2 separate regions of the Homo sapiens genome follow, and region 2 is linked to region 1. The links are contacts of gene promoters, found by promoter capture Hi-C in blood cells and fetal thymus (Javierre and others, 2016). All regions are on one chromosome and are shown on one strand. Each heading gives the region's core, a stretch centred on a gene start or on the middle of the fragment in contact. The rest is flanking DNA. Distances are from core to core; before and after follow the strand shown.

What was found. Contacts are between HindIII fragments. The CHiCAGO score rates a contact against its expected background, and 5 or more counts as called.
Region 2: a contact is called between a fragment that was not itself captured here and the fragment with the promoter of LINC00862 in region 1, in 1 of 17 cell types (naive B cells). The highest score is 6.5, in naive B cells.

Annotation. Positions count from the first base shown.
Region 1 is chr1:200,372,285-200,375,425 of GRCh38, reverse strand. It overlaps LINC00862 (long intergenic non-protein coding RNA 862), which reads left to right and starts at 1,634. Exons shown (of 5, transcript NR_040064.1): 1 at 1,634-1,779; 2 at 2,257-2,333. RefSeq lists enhancers at 154-1,353, 2,750-3,141. The HindIII fragment of the contact is 2,511 bases long and covers 1-2,122 here.
Region 2 is chr1:199,687,334-199,690,041 of GRCh38, reverse strand. No RefSeq gene overlaps it. Among named protein-coding and RNA genes, the nearest start is that of NR5A2, 340 kb to the left of the region's middle. The HindIII fragment of the contact is 426 bases long and covers 1,246-1,671 here.

The sequences.
Region 1 (3,141 bases), core at 385-2,884:
TTTGTAGAAAAAACAGAGAGGAAGGGAGTTTAAGGGATTGGCAAAAAGGATATAGTAATAACAGACCATGGAATAAAAATTGAGTAAGAAGGAAAGTGAAAACAGCTGAAGGCTAATGAATTGGGAGAAAGCAGATGGATCAATAGACTGGAGGCCCCAATATTTCTAAGAGCAGTTGGAGTTGTTGTCATGCAAGTTGGAAGGAAAGATGCTTATCCAAAAGCTGAATGCCTGAATCAGTAATCTTGCGGCAGAGCTATTGTAGGTGATGACAAGGTCAGTCCTTTGAAGTCTATGCATATATATCTTCATTATAGGCTGACTTGCCAAGTCTTAGAATTTTTACAATATAACCTCACTGTGGATCTCATCTAAGCAGGTTTGGTAACCAAAAGCTCAAGAGCGTGAGATTGAGACCCCAGAGAGCTCATAGCCTGTCACAAACCAGCTGTGTAACCACGGACCTTGAGGAAATGAACCTTATGGTCCCTTCCGTCTCTAATCTGTGACTCCATAGCCCCATTATAATATAGCCTTTTCCCAAACACTGACCTTCAACATAGACCCTGGGGGATTTTTCTATTAAAAATTTGCAACTCTGCACATTTTTATCTGCTGATGCCTCTTGGAATATTAAATGCTTAGAAAGCTGTCGTCGGGATCACATTCTGGAATCTTGACCATGTAGTCATCTGAGTGGGTGTGACAGGAAGTATACACCAGCAGCATTTGTGTCTGAGTGTCCTTCAGACACTGGGATGGCTGCACCTTTACCCGTCCTCTCCAACTCTCTCCACCTAGAAAGTATTCTTTTCTCTTAATTTTGTTAGAGTTATATAGGAATGCTCCTTCAGCAGAAATGACAGAGGCTGTTGCTCTCAGAATCAAATGCAATAATGTGACCTGTAAATTCCTGTGAATATTTGGATATTTTAGCGATATTTGTTTATTCAGAAGAGATTCTGGATGCAGAACTCTCCTCCTCTCTGTTCTCTAACCCTGCTTTCCACCATCATTCTTCTCTCTCTAGGGCACAGAGAGAATTAAGAACAACCTAAGGTAAATTTTTAACAAGATGGTCTAGCTTGAGCTCTGTAGGCTTGACTGATGAAATAAGTAGTAGTTTTTTGCTAAAATAACCACATTGTTTGCAAAAGTTTTCTCCTTTGAGTTTTCTAGGGTCATTACAATGATCTAACTGCCTTACCTGCTTTTGAACTGGTTGAGCCTCTTGTGGGACCGAAAACAAAAGAAGGGTGTTGAAATGCAAATAGATAACTCTGGGTCCCAGTCCCTGACTGCAAAAGGAAGCCAAAACTGACAACAACGTCTCCTTCTCTACGGAGGTTTGTAGAAAGGCTGTACAAAAATCTCACAAGATGTATTTCTTCTCGTGGACTGGAGTCCCAAGGTAGGTAAGAAAAACAAAAACAAGATAAAAACAAACAAAGGATTCCGTACTTGGAATTTGCTCAGTACCAGTTGAATAGCTAATTGTTTCTTGTGTTCTTCCCCTCCCCCCTTTTTTTCTGCCTGAATAGATAATCCTTACAAAACATCTATTCATTCTACAAGTGAAAATTTCAAGAATATTCTATACTGACCTTGGCAAGAGTAATGGACCGAGATTGAGTGATGAATTTGTGTGTGTTGTGGCTGATGTGCATTTTGGTGCTTTGTATGCAAGTTTAAGAATATCTTAGCAATAGGAAAGGAAGATTTATGGCAGTTTAATTAATGAATATAATGAAGGCTAAAACTTGTAGATAAATTTATAAGGTACACAATTATTTTTATAGCTTATTTTTAGCACAAAGGTGATTGTATTTTGTTGCTTTAAGAAAGGACCTCTTGATAATACTGGCGTGTTTTATATTTCAATGTGACCAGTTTAACTGATATGCAAACAATTATTTTTTAAGGGAAATAAAATGAGGCAGTAGTACAACTTAGCGAAGAGGACACTGTGGCAGATTCTAACGACTAGATTAAATTTGAGCTCTTATTTGGCTTTTACTACCAACTGACTGCATAACTTTGGGTCAGTTATTTGGCTCTTTTTTTTTTTTAATTTACAAAATTAGAATGAGAACTACAGATAGTGAAAATATTTGGAAAAGCTTTTTGAAGTCCCACGTGAAAGGCATCAGAAAAAAGAGTTGGGTGATTTTTTTTAATGGGAAATAATCTGATATTGTCAGTAAACCTAAATTTTTTGTATATTAATTTATTTTTTAAGCTGTTATTTAATTTCAGGTGCTTAAGAGCTCTTCAATTTGTTAATGGAAAGAAACACCATTTACACCGGATGGCTACAAAGCAACCTTATTCTGGTAAAATAATCTCTTAAATCCTTATATACACAGTCACTAACTGTTGGCTTTATAAGGTCAGTAGTAGCAAAACAGCCCTGTGGCAGTTAGAAGCTCAGCATGTCCAAGATAGCACTAACGGGGAACAAACACAAAAAACAGCAAACAGTTTAAACAGTACCATTTGATTTGAATTTAACCCAATCTTAAACAGAGGACTCTAAAAAAACAATTACCAGCAAAGTTACATTAATTAGGGAGATCATTAGGTTGTATCAATGCAGTTTAGCTATGCCTTTTAAAAAGTGAAGATGGACTAGAAGCGGTGGCTCATACCTGTAATTTCAGCACTTTGGGAGGCCAAGGTGGGAGGATCCCTTGAACTCAGGACTTTGAGACCAACTTGGGCAACAAAGTGAGACCATCATGTCTACAAAATTTTAAAAATTAGCTGGGTGTGGTGGGGTATGCCTGTGGTCCCAACTATTTGGAAGGCTGAAGCAGGAGGATCGCTTGAGCCCAGGAGGTCAAGGCTGCAGTAAGCCATGATTGTGCTACTGCACTCCAACCTGGGCAACTGAGTGAGACCCTGTCTCAAAAAAAAGAAAAAGATTGAACTTGCAGGCCAACATTTATTTCTGACTATTGACTACTTTTGAAAGAGAAAGCTTTGGACACTAACATTCTAGTCTCAGAGGCCTCAAAGAAGCACAGCCCTGTAAAGAAGAAAATTCTGCTGGGATTAGCAAGAGCCTCAAGGTTTTGGGAACTTGGAATGCCAGGCTCAGTGTTCCGAGTTCCAATGTTGACTCTGCCTGTGAGTCACCCT
Region 2 (2,708 bases), core at 209-2,708, 690 kb after region 1:
TCCCCAAACTGCTCATTTTCACATCCTCTAAAGCTATGGTTCTCAAAATATGGTCCCTGAGCCAGTAGCAATAGCACCTGGGAACTTCTTACAAATCCAAATTCTGGAAGGCCAACGCAGACCTCCTGAATCAGAAACTGGATGTTGGGTCCAGTAATCCGGGTTTTCACAACTCTCCTGGTGACTCTGATGCCAGCTAAAGCCTGAGAACCACTGCCGCAGAGCTTTACCTAACAAGCCTTCAGGTCTGTCTACATCTTGTTGGTTTGATAGCAATGGAGTGAAATTCTCTGTGTTTGTGTCCACTATATCTAATTACAACTTATGGACACTCAGGAATCGTTAAATGACAATATGGGAAGGGGAGATGTTCACATTCATTAAATACTGTTCTAAAATTATACCCGCAGTGTAACTGAGAGAGGTATGACTGTGTGACGACACAGAGAGGTAATGCCATTAAAAGAAAGGCTCACTGCTGCTCACAGCTCCCCAGGAAATGAGAGGCAAGGCATGCAACTCAGGACCATGGAGGAGGTTCCAGTGCCAGGAAGCAGAAGTGGGAGCGAGGGGAAAGCTGAGGCTAGAGCCTTTATTGGGGTTTCTGCAGGAAAGGCAAGGCAGGGCAGGGCGAAGAGCTTAAGGTTGGCAGTTTCAATAATTCTAGGGGGCTTTGGGGCATAGAGGTGGTCTTTAGTTGCATAGATCTGTTCCCTAGAGTTATTCAGGGGTGTGGAAATATTGGCTTTATGTGTGAGAGCTAGACAAGGAAATGGTTGAGGCTGTAGACTCGGGATTGGTTGGTGCTCCCTGGAGACCCCTGTTTTGTATAAGAATTGGCTACTCCTGGGAGGTGAAGTCTCTCCCTGGCCAGCAAGCTTTCTGAGATATTAGAACATCATAAAATATAGAAAATAAAAAAAATGCTTAAAACAAGTATGTGCCAGGGATTATACTAGAATATATATATGTATAAAATCCCATTTCATGCTCACAGCAGCCCTATGCAGTTGGTTTTGTCCTACCACAAATAATAAAACTGAAGTTCAGAGAGGTCAAGTAATTTGTCTAAGCTCACACAGCTGCAAGTGGTGGAGCAGAGATTTAAGTAAGACTAGTTTGACTTTAAAAGCTCTTCCAACTTATAAAGCTATATAACAGAGTCTAGCTTTTCTCCTAGGAACTATATGAAACTCAAAGTCTGGCAATGACTGGAGAGAACTGGACTGGAAAGTTTCTCAAGCTTGATAGAGTTGAAGGGACTACAGCTGGGAGAGGGCAGCTATTAGGGGAGCCACAGCTGCCAGTCTGCATTCATATTCTACGTGGGGGAGGGATGGGACATACATACACACATTTCTCACAGCCAAGTTTAAAACAATTTAAATGAAGCAAAGTATTCAATTAGAGATGCTTGAGGAAACCAGGCACGTATCATCTATGTCAGCAGCAAAGGAGAAGAAAATATTTAGCCTTTGCAAGCTGTGACCACTTCAGCACTGTATGATGATGTTGCCTCACGGAAGAGCAAAAGAATACATCCAGTACCTTAGAGAGATTAATTTCCCCAGGAAAAAAAAAGAAAACAAAGGAAGATCCTCTGATTACATTTAAATATTTCCTTGCCAATGCTTGGGGGAATTCTGACATTCCTTCTTGCAAAGGAAAGCTTTTGTGCCTGGGAAAAAGGTGATTAGGGCACTGTGCCTGGGAGGATAGAGGCGAGGGAGGGGTGAAAGGGAGGAAGGGGTGTTTCAATAGCAGCACAGGTGCAACAGTTTGGACTGAGTGATGGCCTTACAAATGACCCTGGCACAGAGCAGAGGAAACCCAAGGAGAAGATTAATTGAATTACAGCTACAGTATGTATGTATGCATTTTATTTCTGTTCTAAAGTCTAAATGGATTGTGGGGCTGGCTAACCAGCTGGGGTAAGGTCAAAATATTGAGGAAATGAGAGGGGATATAGATGAACAATTTTCTTGATAGGGAACAAATCCTTAGCTTGTTTGCTTTTGTCTAGAACATTTTGGAGTCTGAAAAGGCTCAGTTCATAACCTCCTTTATGTAAGTGCAATCTAATTATTTTTCATGCCAGGATATGACCAGTACCTGAGGTTTTGGCTTTAAGACTATGGAAGGTAAATTGGGATAAGGAGTAGAACATTTGCTTTATAACCCAATTTCTCGCTTTCCAGGAGAGCTGATGGTAGAATTTTTTCTTTAGGACACTGAAAATATAATTTAAATTTTAAGAAAAGTTAATATCCACACACCTTTACTACAGAGGTAATGTACGCCCAGTACCTCAAATTCATCTTGCATATAGTAAGCCTTCAACCCAGGAAGACCAACCACCCTGTCCCTTGCTTTAACAACTGTTTAAGAGAAAATATGGCATATTAGAAGGACTGTTACTAAACTGGGTGACTAATGAGTGGTGTGTCATCAGACTATACAGTCTTAAATACCTCATTTTAGCCTCTCTGAGACTTGGCTTAATTGTGTCTAATAGCCCCTCCATCTGTCTTCTGGGAGTCATGCTCGCCCAGCAGTTCCTCTCTCCTTATTCTTGTCAGCCTGTGCATGGTTGCTAACGCTGTGCTGTAGTGAGATCTTGCTGGCCAGCCCCAACAGCATTCCGCCCCTCACCACTCAGCGAGGTTTATATAAACTTGCAAGGTATGTGTTTCATTGTTACTTTGATG